Linked DNA regions of Homo sapiens: regions 1, 3 and 4 are each linked to region 2. The links are contacts of gene promoters, found by promoter capture Hi-C in blood cells and fetal thymus (Javierre and others, 2016). All regions are on one chromosome and are shown on one strand. Each heading gives the region's core, a stretch centred on a gene start or on the middle of the fragment in contact. The rest is flanking DNA. Distances are from core to core; before and after follow the strand shown.

Evidence for each region. Contacts are between HindIII fragments. The CHiCAGO score rates a contact against its expected background, and 5 or more counts as called.
Region 1: the fragment with the promoter of TMEM256 here is called in contact with the fragment with the promoter of TNFSF12 in region 2 in 2 of 17 cell types (endothelial precursors and total CD8 T cells); the score reaches 7.0 in endothelial precursors.
Region 3: a contact is called between a fragment that was not itself captured here and the fragment with the promoter of TNFSF12 in region 2, in 11 of 17 cell types (naive B cells, activated CD4 T cells, non-activated CD4 T cells and 8 more). The highest score is 9.7, in naive B cells.
Region 4: a contact is called between a fragment that was not itself captured here and the fragment with the promoter of TNFSF12 in region 2, in 17 of 17 cell types (erythroblasts, endothelial precursors, naive B cells and 14 more). The highest score is 15.9, in erythroblasts.

The regions. Positions count from the first base shown.
Region 1 is chr17:7,402,541-7,405,562 of GRCh38, forward strand. It overlaps TMEM256 (transmembrane protein 256), which reads right to left and starts at 1,557. Exons shown (of 4, transcript NM_152766.5): 1 at 1,460-1,557; 2 at 1,118-1,149; 3 at 770-850; 4 at 435-669. The coding sequence starts at 1,544. The coding sequence ends at 526. TMEM256-PLSCR3 (TMEM256-PLSCR3 readthrough (NMD candidate)) reads right to left here and starts at 1,591. Exons shown (of 10, transcript NR_037719.1): 1 at 1,460-1,591; 2 at 1,118-1,149. It also overlaps a transcript of NLGN2 not described here. RefSeq lists an enhancer at 1,366-1,545 and a silencer at 2,036-2,365. The HindIII fragment of the contact is 6,317 bases long and covers 1,265-3,022 here.
Region 2 is chr17:7,547,782-7,550,529 of GRCh38, forward strand. It overlaps TNFSF12 (TNF superfamily member 12), which reads left to right and starts at 1,277. Exons shown (of 7, transcript NM_003809.3): 1 at 1,277-1,531; 2 at 1,693-1,740; 3 at 2,339-2,414. The coding sequence starts at 1,373. It overlaps TNFSF12-TNFSF13 (TNFSF12-TNFSF13 readthrough), which reads left to right and starts at 1,277. Exons shown (of 11, transcript NM_172089.4): 1 at 1,277-1,531; 2 at 1,693-1,740; 3 at 2,339-2,414. The coding sequence starts at 1,373. RefSeq lists silencers at 1,172-1,361, 1,392-1,471. The HindIII fragment of the contact is 9,939 bases long and covers 1-2,748 here.
Region 3 is chr17:7,313,265-7,316,262 of GRCh38, forward strand. It overlaps GPS2 (G protein pathway suppressor 2), which reads right to left and starts at 2,096. Exons shown (of 11, transcript NM_004489.5): 1 at 2,067-2,096; 2 at 1,695-1,855; 3 at 1,224-1,333; 4 at 1,027-1,139; 5 at 816-895; 6 at 642-724; 7 at 304-457; 8 at 116-205; 9 at 1-27. The coding sequence starts at 1,788. NEURL4 (neuralized E3 ubiquitin protein ligase 4) reads right to left here. Exons shown (of 29, transcript NM_032442.3): 29 at 2,364-2,998. The coding sequence ends at 2,859. RefSeq lists an enhancer at 692-761 and a silencer at 1,709-2,038. The HindIII fragment of the contact is 643 bases long and covers 1,117-1,759 here.
Region 4 is chr17:7,386,462-7,389,334 of GRCh38, forward strand. It overlaps TNK1 (tyrosine kinase non receptor 1), which reads left to right. Exons shown (of 13, transcript NM_003985.6): 8 at 100-194; 9 at 529-693; 10 at 917-996; 11 at 1,945-2,243; 12 at 2,327-2,422; 13 at 2,510-2,873. The coding sequence ends at 2,623. Among named protein-coding and RNA genes, the nearest start is that of PLSCR3, 6.6 kb to the right of the region's middle. The HindIII fragment of the contact is 3,374 bases long and covers 1-2,873 here.

The sequences.
Region 1 (3,022 bases), core at 307-2,806, 140 kb before region 2:
AGGCGCCTGTAATCCCAGCTATTCAGGAGGCCGAGGCAGGAGAATCGCTTGAACCTGGGAGGCAGAGGTTGCAGTGAGCCGAGGTCGCGCCACTGTATTCCAGCCTGGGCGACAGAGCAAGACTCCATCTCAAAATAATAATAATAATAATAATAAAATTAAAAACCTAGTATGCATCAGAACCACAAGATGAGCTTATTAAAATACAGATTCTCAGGCCCGAAAGAGTGCTTCAGTAGGAATCTGTGTTATTTCAAGCATTCTTTATGACTTTGATGCCCACCAGGGTAAGAACATTATAATAAGTTAACTTAAAGTGACCAGAATCCCCAGACCTAAGGCTCACTGATTAAGTCTTAGGAAATGGAGGGAGTTCAGAGGTTGAATCCCCACCCTTCGTCCTCCAAGAGGTTAGATGAACAAAGACTCCAAAGTTTATTTGCCTTTCCTTTTTAATCCTCTTCTTACTCCAACTCTTTAAAAAAAAAACTGCCCAGAAAACCCAGTAATTAAGCAAAAGGGAGCTCAAAGAGCCAAGGCAAGCCAGCCCAAGAGTAGCAGGGTCCCTCCCGCAGGGGCCAAAGTCTGGATGCTGGGGTCTCCACTCAGAGCCTGGTAGTAAAAGCTGGTGCAGAATAAGGTCGTTCCGGAAGCTAGCAATAACCCAGCCTGAAGGAGACACAGCACAGAAAACAGGATTGTTAAGAACAGGGCAGGCTGAGAGGGAGTGTGTGGGGCTTGGTCAGGGTTAGGCGCAGGGAAAGATTACCCAGAGTGGCTTTCTGCAATGGGGCACCCCTAACAGGGCCAGGCTGTGTAAGAAGTGGTGTTTGTTGGCCTTGTCAAACAGCTGTAAGAAAAACAGAAACGAAGGGATGTCGTAGGCAATACAGGTACTGAGATCCCCTGATGACACAAGGGACCAAAGTTCCTTCCCCCACCCCACCCTTGAAGTCCCAGCTTGATCCCAGGCCTTTGGCTTACAGAGCCTTTGGCCTTTGCTGCTCCAGAGATCCGCGGCTCGCCCCACCCTCTCCCCGCCCACTTCCCCCAGGGACCCCAGACTTTGTGCCTTCGTAGACCCACGAGTCAGGGAGCCCCAGCGCAGTTACTTCACCTCCTTCCCGTAGGCATCTGGGAATTGGGCGCCTGTGGAGAAAAGAAGCAAAGGTTAGCGGTCCTAGTGCCAGCCCTGACCGCCCCCAATCCGGGGGGACCCAGGTGGACATTGGCGAGAAAGGGCACCCCCCCCCCCGCCCCAGGAAGCTTCCGATTGGTGGGAACACGCTCGGGCAGTACTGGGAACCAATTGGACCCAGCTGGGGGACTTTAAAAGGTTTAGGGCTCCGCGGACTGTCTGATAAACGAGAGGCCGGGCACCTCCCATAGGTTACGCCCTTGCAGCAGACCCCAGAGGACGCCCCAAGTACAGTCCCATCTTCGTCCCCAGCCCCCTGACCGTGCGCCCCGTAGGAAGCGAAGCCTAAGGCCGCAGCTCCGGACAAGGCGCCCAAGCGGCGGAAAGCTGCAGCTGGCCCGGCCATAGCTGTAGAACAGGACGCACCGGACCAACGCCGCCCAGGCCACCCAAGAGGCCAGCCAATCCCGACCGCCCATGCAAATAAGGTTCACAGGCGCCCAATCCGGGCCGTGTTCATTTCAGCATTGCGCTCTTCACCCGCCTTTGTAAAACCGCTGCAGAGTGGCGAAGACGTCTGGCGGGCGGAGAAACCAGCACCAATTAGGAACAGAGGAGCTAAGCAGTGGGGGGGCGGGGTTGAGGGCGGGACTAGGGGGATTTGCGTCAAGGATTGGCCCACTTTCCAAGTTGATCGCCTCTTCGAACCCCCCACCCCCATGCTCCGGCCAATTTCCAAAGATCCCGGTCTTCTCTCAAAGTTCCGCCCCTTTTTCCACAGGCTCCTCCTGTTCAGCTTCAAATCAAACCCACTACCAAAAAGAGGCGGCCCGAAAGATAGCAAAGCCCCACCTATTGCCAGTAAACCCCGCCCACTGCACAAATGGCCCCTCCCCCATGTCTGAAGGCTCCGCCTTCTTTGTATGATGCCCCGCCCCCTGTAGTTAAGATATTCTCCCCCCCGCCAGCCCTCCGAGACCGCGAGAGCCCCGAGGGTGGGAGATCCGGGGGAATGTCTCCACCCTGCCCTGGCCCGCTACGTCCATCTGTCCGTCTGTCCGCTCCCGCCTCTTCCCACCATCTCCAATCCCCCCATTCTCCGGAGGGCGGGCGGGCAGGCGGGTGCGAGCGGGGGGTGCGAGCGGGGGGTGTGCGCCGCTCTCTCGGCAGGGGGCGGGGGAGGCGGCCGCGCGGTGACGCGCGGGGCTGCTGCGGCTGCTCCGCCGGCGGATCATCACTCTCGGGCTGGGATGGACGCGGGGCGGGCCGGCCCTGGCGCGCGGAGCCAGGAGTCCGGGCCTCCCGGCTGCTGAGCGTCCCTCGAAGCCTCCCCTCACCCCCGCCTTCCCTCCTAGGATCCGCGCTGACCCCCGCCCCGGGGCTCTGGACTCGGCTCCCGCCCTCCTCTGACTCCCCGGACCTCCCCCTCACGCCCGCCCTCGGGATCGACTAGATCCCTCCCCCTCCCCGAGGATTCCGGCTGGATCCCTGCCCCTGCACCGCGGATCCTGCGCTCCCGGGCCCCGGGCCCCTGGGGATTAACGTGGACTCCTCCTCCAGCACCCGATCCTTAGGATCCTCCGCCTGGACCGCCTTCTGGTCCCTCGAAGCCGGCCCACGGAACCAGCGGATCCTCAATCTAGTCCTGTCCCGTTGCCCCCTCCTTTCTCTATCGTCCCTACTGCGGGGTTCCCTGTTCTCGGGCTCCCCCTGATCCCATCCCCTAGCTCTCCTTTTCCCGGGGATCGACTGGATCCCGGCCCCGCCCCCCGGGGCTGGGGCGATCCCCCTCCCCCGCCGGGTGAGGCGCTGCGGGCGGGGGCTGGGCCTGCGGGGCCGCGGGGGCTCAGAGGCCGCCGCCCCCTCCCGAAGGCCTTTCGCCCC
Region 2 (2,748 bases), core at 27-2,526:
CTCTGTTTCCTCCAATGTCAAATTTTGTTTGTTAATTTTGGTCTTTCTTTCTTTTTTTTTTTTTTTGAGATAGGGTCTTGCTGTGTTGCCCAGGCTGGAGTGTGGTGGCGTGATCTCAGCTCTCTGCAACCTCTGTCTCCTGGGTTCAAGCAATTCTCTGCCTCAGCTTCCCGAGTAGCTGGGAACTACAGGCGCCTGCCACCACGTCCGGCTAATTTTTTTGTATTTTTATTAGAGACAGGGTTTCACCATCTTGGCCAGGCAGGTCTCGATCTCCTGACCTCGTGATCCACCCGCCTCAGCCTCCCAAAGTGCTGCGATTACAGGCGTGAACCATCGCGCCCAGCCAATTTTGGTCCTTCCTTCCTTCCTTCCTTCCTTCCTTCCTTCCTTCCTTCCTTCCCTCCTTCCCTCCCTCCCTCCCTCCCTCCTTTCTTTCTTTCTTCCTTTCTTTCTTTCTTTTTGAGACAAGGTCTGTTGCCCAGGCTGGAGTGTAGTGGTGCAATCACAGCTCACTGCAGCCTCAAACTCCTGGGCTCAAACAATCCTCCTACCTCGGCCTCCTGAGTAGCTGGGACTACAGGCGTGGGCTAATTTTTTAAAACTTTTCTGTAGAGATGGGGTCTTGCTCTTGCCCAGGCTGATCTTGAACTCCTGGCCCCCAGCCTTGGCCTTCTGGGATTACAGGCGTAAGCCACCTGCCGGACCAATTTTGGTGTTTCTTTTGCATGCTGCTGGTCCTCCTCAGATGCTTGGCAATCATTGGTAATGATGGGCTTCAGAACGTGCTACCGGCACAGTGAGTGTTTTAAGCTGAAGGAATTTGAGAAAACCGCAGAAGCCGAAGGATCTTTCTTACCTTCTCCTGCCCTTCTTCCCTGAACCAGGTCATACAACCTGGAACTCCCTGCCCTTTTCCTGAAGAAGCAAATAACAGCCTCCTGCGAGAGGCGCCCTCCCTGCACCTGGGGGAAAGGAGGGTCCTTATCTCTGAAGACACAGGGACACAGAAGAATCTGAACCAACAGGCCTTCCTGAGTTCCCCACCTCCCCGCAGGAGGTGCCCGCACACGCATAGCCCCGTCGCTCCCGCGGCCGCACGCAACGGACCTCGCCCTGGTGGTGCACGCCCGGGCTGGGCGCTCAGAGGTCGGGTGGGCGCCCACTCCGTTCGCTGCGCGCACAGCGCCCGGCGAGAGGCTCGGAGTTTGATCACACACAGCGTCCGGCTTCCTGTCCCCAGCGCCCCCTCCCGCCCCGTTTCCCTTGCCCCTCCCTCTCCCCGGCCCGATCCGCCCGCCGGCTCCCCCTCCCCCGATCCCTCGGGTCCCGGGATGGGGGGGCGGTGAGGCAGGCACAGCCCCCCGCCCCCATGGCCGCCCGTCGGAGCCAGAGGCGGAGGGGGCGCCGGGGGGAGCCGGGCACCGCCCTGCTGGTCCCGCTCGCGCTGGGCCTGGGCCTGGCGCTGGCCTGCCTCGGCCTCCTGCTGGCCGTGGTCAGTTTGGGGAGCCGGGCATCGCTGTCCGCCCAGGTGAGGCCCCGCTGCGCACCCCTTCTTGGGCACATCAGGAGCTGAGACTGCAGAGGGGCCGCTGGGGGCCGCGTGGGCTGAAGGCAAGGGGAAGGGAGGATGGGTGGAGGGTGAGATGTCAGGTGGAGCGGCACAGGGTGACGCTCCCTCCTTCCCAGCAGGAGCCTGCCCAGGAGGAGCTGGTGGCAGAGGAGGACCAGGACCCGTCGGTGAGTGGGCGTGGGCGCGGTCTGCAGGCTGCTGGGGCATGGGAAGTGTGCACAGCCGAGGCTGCAGGTGTGTGCAGCTGTGCCAGCCGTACTCGAGGTGTGTGCAGGGTGTGTGTGAACACAGTGCGTGCATGGGTGCGTGTCTGCAGGGGTGTGTGTGCGTGGTGACAACTCTGTGTGAGGGGTTTGTGCTGGGGTTGTGCCACCTGAGTCTGAGGTGTTTATTGGCTGGGGGTGACGTGGTTGTATAAGATATGTGAGTCTGCGTGGAAGAGGGGTGCGGTTGTGTACAGGGTGTGTATCCTCTGTGCGTGGTGACTGGGTGCGGGCATGTGTGCAATGTGCCAATTGAATGCAGGGTCTGCGTTGGTTGTGTGTGTGGGTGGGAAAGTGTAGCTGGTCTAGAGGAAAGGGTGAGGACTGGGGCCTGACTCCCAGCTTCACCTTTGCCCGGGGCCCCAGCTGTAGTTGGCTGAGGGGCTTAATCTGTCCCTGACTTCTGTGTCTATTGCTGGCTGGTGGCTCTCCTGACAGGCCCCGTATGTCTCACTTTATATCTCTGGGAGTCTGTGGTTGAACCCTGCCCTAATTCCCCTAGGAACTGAATCCCCAGACAGAAGAAAGCCAGGATCCTGCGCCTTTCCTGAACCGACTAGTTCGGCCTCGCAGAAGTGGTGAGCATCCCTCTATCCCAACCTCAGGAAGCGGGCAGAGCAAAAACCATTATCCACAGGGAGAAACTGAGGCACGGAGGGTGAAAGGAGTTCAGAGTCATGCAGCTAACCAGCCAAGACTCAAACCTAGGGATTCTCGCCCTCCTCTGAAGCTCCTTCTGTCATATGGATGTGCTCCTTCAGACCCTACCCCAAACAGGAAGGCAGGGTGGCCATGAGTTAGAAGAACTACTGGGATCCTGATGGAGACTAGGCCTGGCAGTCAGAGGCCTGGGCCCCGGTAGGCAAAGAGACTTAGGAATGGGATGATGGGGTGGCCGGATGACCACGTGTC
Region 3 (2,998 bases), core at 188-2,687, 230 kb before region 2:
ACAGGGCACCACCAGGCTGGAGGAAACCTAGGTGGGGAAGAGGGGCATGTGAGATGAGAATGAAACAGGGAGGGGAGGACCTGAGAGCTAGAGCTCCTGCATGGGATGTTATCACCTGTCTGAGTGGGCTGAAAGTGGCCATGCACAGCATAGGGCTGTGGCTGTGGCTGAGATAGGTACTGCACTGCAGGGAATGCCGAAGGAGCTGAGAAAGGAAAAGACAGAGCCATTAAAATCTTTTACTGAATGGCATTCCTCCTTTGACCTTGAGGAAGGCCAAGCCCCATCCCTCCTATTACTCACCTCTGAGCTGCTGACTAGGACTATAAGCTGGCTGTGTGGGCCCATAGTGAGGTGGGGGCTGAGCAGTCCCATAGGCACCACCAGGACTGCCTTGGAATTGTCCATGCTCTGGTGTCCCTGCAAAAGCAGCTGCTGAGCCCACGTAGTGCCGGGTCTAAGGAAGGAGAATGAGAACTCGCCTACAAACTCCTTGAAAGCTGAAACCCAGTGACTTGTGTGTATCTGTATGCCCCGTTTCCCCCTAAACTTAAGTGCTTGATATGTTTGTGACTTGAATACTGGTGGCAAGGATGCATGGATGGAAGTACTAGGGGCTAGGCATCCAATCCTACTCTCACCGTAAGCACTTGGGGTCCAAACATTTGTTTGGCTCTGTCAGCTGCCATGAGGGTGCCTGGGCGATTGTGTCCTCCAGGGCTCCCTAGAAAGGGAGAAGGGCTTCATGATGCTGAAATGGGAGGCTGTGACCTCCAAGAAGGCCGGTTCCATCTGGTGGTTTCTTTAGTCCTCACCCTGCATGCTGAGGAGATGAGTTCCTGTGTGAACAGTCAGGCTCTGCTGGTATGCAGCTGATGTTAGGGTGGTCAGGTCACTGGAGTGAAAGGAAGACAGGTCAAAGTCAAGGACAGATGCCTTCTCTTTTGCCATTAAACACTGGTTCTTTTACTACCTGATCCCAGTTCCACTTGGCCCCCATTTCAGTTTTTAGCACTCTGATCCCACCTCTGTTCCTTTCGCCTCCGTTTTTCTTCCTCATGTAAAACTTTCTTGAGCTGCAGGAAAAGCTGGTGCTTCTCTTCCTGTAGAGCCAAAAGCTTCTCCTCCAACTTCAGAATCTGGGATGGGGTGGGAAAAGAAGATGAAGGCAGGGAGAGTCAAACGAAGAAATCAAAGCTGGGAAAGTTCAAGGGACTGCTTACTTGTTCCTTGGTCTCCTCTAATGACATTCTCTCTTCCATCTCCTTTTTCTTCCTTCTCTCCTGTTCTTCCTTCATCTTCTGTTCCATCATCTTATCCACCTCTTCTTCCTCTGGAGAATCAGGCAGAATGAAGAAGAGGCAGGGTAGTGAAAACAATTCCAACGTTACAGATTGAAGACCAGCAAAACCCAGTCATCCCAACACGCCTGTATGCTCTTTGCCTCGAGGGGACAAGCTCCCCATCGCGGCAATAGGGAACGGAAAGGCTTTATCAGGTGCTCTCCAAGGTCCTTCCCATCTCAAGGGTTCTGGAGCGTGGAACAGGACGCTTAAATCCCACCACAACGGGGCTATTCCTTCCCTCCTCTGCGCTCGGCAGCGGGCGCGCTGGTTGGCCGGTGGGTTGAGGCCAGCCTTGAGGTACAGGAGCCATTCTGGGCCGTGCGTCCCCCTGCTATGGCCCCGGCTCACCCTGCCGCTTGCGCTCCCGCTCCATCATAATGTGCCGGTGCAGCGCCCTGGCCATGGCGTTGGAAAGCTTGGGGCGCTCCAGGAGTGCGGGCATGGTGCTGCCGTGGGCGCTCGGGCCGTGGGCGCCCGGCTGTCTCTGACTGCCAGACCTCAGACGGGGCCTGCGGGGAGGCGGGCGCTCAGAGGGGGCCGCGCCCGGCCCAGGCGGAAGCCCGTCCGCCCGGCCCGCTCGCCGCCCCGGTCACGTGTCCCAGGAGCCCGCCACCCGGCCGGGACCGCAGCCCCAGTCCCACCGCGCGCGGGCGGCGCCGGGGTCCCCGGCTCGCTGCTGCCGCTCCCTGCCCAGCCAGCGCGGACGACTGCCCTTCCTACCCGCCTTCTCTGCGCTTTCTCAGCGGCTCCGACGCGCCCTGGCCCCTGCGTCACATCCGGCGGCCCGGCCGAGTCCTTCCGGAGTCACGGCGGCGGCCGACCTCACAGGTGAAAGAAGGCGGAAGCGCGCTGCGACGGGTGCCCGCGGCGTACAAACCCCGTCGCCGGGAACGTGAGCGACGACGGCTGCAGACTGGCCTTGGCATCCTCAGCTCTCTTTAATTTCGCGGGCCCACCTGGTGGCACCCCAGGGGACGCGGGCTCCGGAGAGGGGCGCGCGAGAGAGAGGCCGAGGCGGAGGCTCTGAGACGGTGTTTATTGGCTCCTTAGAAATCAGAGTCAGTAACAACTGTACAGAGGCCCCCATCTTCCGTGCGCCCACCCTTCCCCACTCCCGCCCGGTGGCCCCGGAAAAAGCAGCTTCATGTGGGCACAGGGAGAGACTCCTCTGGGATTCACAGTAACCAGAAACAAAAACGGAAATAAATTAAGTGATGTGGGGTAGGGGAGTAAAAGGGAGTCATGTTCCCCAAATCAGTGCATGAAGAGGGGTACCAGGGCCTGGAGCTGGGCTCCCACGACTCCTCCCATCAGACGGAGTGCTGGGCCTCCGGACATGGAGCTGTGCCACTTGCCACCTACATCTGAGAGCCTGCCTACATGCTCCTGCGCGGCTGCCAAGCTCCAGCACCTGCGCATGCCACGAGTCACGGGAATGAGGTGGAGGCAGTCGCCACTCAGAGTCCATGGGCCCGCGGCCCGACTGTGCTTGTAGTAGTGGTGTCTCACCCCTCATTCCACCCGTACCAGCAGGGCACAGAGGAGTGTGGCCCCCTTCTCCTTAGTGACCCACTCAAGTTCGGCTGGACTGAAGTGAGGGTCAGGAGGTTCTCCAAGGGCAGCGGAAGGGGGTCCCGGGGTGTAGGAGCCAG
Region 4 (2,873 bases), core at 1-2,500, 160 kb before region 2:
AGACTACATACAGAGCGGAGCTCCTCTTTATTCCTGCTCCCATATTACCTATCTGACTCAGGCCACAAGCCCAGCCACCCTTTCCTCTTGTCTCCACAGGCCGGGCCTTCGGAAGCATGTTGTGTGAGGGATGTCACAGAACCAGGCGCCCTGAGGATGGAGACTGGTGACCCCATCACAGTCATCGAGGGCAGGTGACAGTCCCATACCTCCCAAGCACCCTCAGGAGGAGGATACCCTCCCAGCCTAATTCCTGATCCCTTCTCTGCTTCTCTCCAGCTCCTTGAACCCTGATCTTCTGTCTCATCTCCTCTCCCCACTGGGTCCTGAAAGCTCCAGCATGGTCCTGGCCTCCCTGCTGGAGCCACTGCTGGCCCATAGAGCCTTATTGCATTAGGGAAAAGGCTTCCCTTCCTCCAGGCAGATGCGGCTCCAAGGCACATAGCCTAGTGAGCTGACTGTGGGCCAGGGCCCAGCCCTAACTCTTGCCCTTATTCCCATCCTATTTACCAGCTCCTCTTTCCACAGCCCCGACTCCACAATCTGGAAGGGCCAGAATGGTCGCACCTTCAAAGTGGGCAGCTTCCCAGCCTCGGCAGTGACGCTGGCAGATGCGGGGGGCTTGCCAGCCACCCGTCCAGTCCACAGAGGCACCCCTGCCCGGGGAGATCAACACCCAGGAAGCATAGATGGGTGAGGACCTGAAAGGGTGAGGGCAGGGGTTGGCTGGGAGAACTGATGAGGTCCAGGAGCTTCTCTGGAAGAGAAGCCTGGGGACAGGACCAGAGTGAAGCTGCAGCCTCCACCCTGGGCCCTGGGTCTCCTGGGTTCCCCTGTGAGTTTTTTTGGGAGGGTATATTGATCTGTGGGGTGGGGAGAGTTGGTGTGGAGGATGAACTGGATCCCTCTCCGACAGAGACAGAAAGAAGGCAAATCTTTGGGATGCGCCCCCAGCACGGGGCCAGAGGAGGAACATGCCCCTGGAGAGGATGAAAGGTGGGTGTGGTGGACTCCAGAGTCTCTGAGGAGATCAAGACCAGTCCTTCAATTCCGACCCCCTGCCCTAAATCCATGCCTTTGCATCTATTATTTCCTTCCTCTGAATTCTGTCTGCTGGCATCCTAGCTATACTGTGCAATCTATTTTTTTTTTTTTTTTTTGAGACAGAGTTTCACTCTTTTTGCCCAGGCTGGAGTGCAGTAGCGTGATCTTGGCTCACCGCAACCTCCACCTCCCGGGTTCAAGCGATTCTCCTGCCTCAGCCTCCCGAGTAGCTGGGACTACAGGCATGTGCCACCACACCCGGCTAATTTTGTATTTTTAGTAGAGATGAGGTTTCACCCTGTTGCCCAGGCTGGCCTTGAACTCCCCACCTCGGGTGATCTGCCTGCCTCGGCCTCTCAAAGTGCTGGGATTACAGGCGTGAGACACTGCGTCCGGCCCTATACTGTGGAATCTTAAAAGATAGGAAGCCCTCCTGCCTTCCCTTCTGAAGAGCACCTCCACACTCTGGGCCCTGAGCTCTGAGTTCTCTGGGCCCTCCGCCTAGGCCTTGGTGTCCACTTGCCCATCTGTCTTATTGTCCCACCTGACACATGAACCACCCAGGGACAGGGCTGGCTAGCTCATCTGCAAATGCTTGCAAAACCATCCAGCTCAGCACAGATGAAGACAGAGAGTGGGGCCAGGCATGGTGGCTCAAGCCTGTAATCCCAGCACTTTGGGAGCCCAGCGTGGGTGGATGGCTTGAGTCCAGGAGTTTGAGACCAGCCTGGGCAATGTGCCGAAACCCCTTCTCTACAAAAATACAAAAATTAGCCAGTCGTAATGGCAGGCACCTATAGTCCCAGCTACTCGGGAGGCTGAGGTGGGAGGATCGCTTGAGCCCGGGAGGCGGAGGCTGCAGCCAGCCGAGTTCAAGTTGTTTCCTTCTCAACTGTGCAGGCATTTCCAGGAGTCTGGAGTCAGTTCTGTCCCTCGGTCCTCGTCCCACAGGGGGTGGTTCAAGCCCCCCTGAAATTCGACAAGCCAGAGCTGTGCCCCAGGGACCTCCAGGCCTGCCTCCACGCCCACCTTTATCCTCTAGCTCTCCTCAGCCCAGCCAGCCCTCTAGGGAGAGGCTTCCCTGGCCCAAAAGAAAACCCCCACACAATCACCCCATGGGAATGCCTGGAGCCCGTAAAGCCGCTGCCCTCTCTGGAGGCCTCTTGTCCGATCCTGAGTTGCAGAGGAAGATTATGGAGGTGAGGTCTCACTGAAATGGCCTGGTGTCCAGAAGGGGCTACAGGCAGGGGCAGGGGCCTGAGTGAGGCTTTGTCTGTCACAGGTGGAGCTGAGTGTGCATGGGGTCACCCACCAGGAGTGCCAGACAGCACTAGGAGCCACTGGGGGAGATGTGGTTTCTGCCATCCGGAACCTCAAGGTAAAGCCAGCCCCTTCTCTTGGGGTCCCTCCTCTCCTGCCCCTGCCGCCTGGCAGTCAGCTGCAACCCACCCTCCTGCTTCCACAGGTAGATCAGCTCTTCCACCTGAGTAGCCGGTCCAGAGCTGACTGCTGGCGCATCCTGGAGCATTACCAGTGGGACCTCTCAGCTGCCAGCCGCTATGTCCTGGCCAGGCCCTGAGCTCAGCTTCTGCGGGCACAGACACCAGCATGAAAAGCCTAGGCCCCTGAGGGCCTGGCCACATGGGACCAAGCGGAACCAGAACAAGGTCCCGACAGGGGTAGACGTTCCACCTGGGGAGATCCCACCTGCCGTAGGCACATGGAGGAGGAGCCCAGAGTTGGGCACTGGCAAATGTCTCCTCCCTCCCATGCTCCTTGGCTTCTGAAGGCTGAAGCTCCTTTGGCTGGGCCAAGAAGGATCTAGTCTG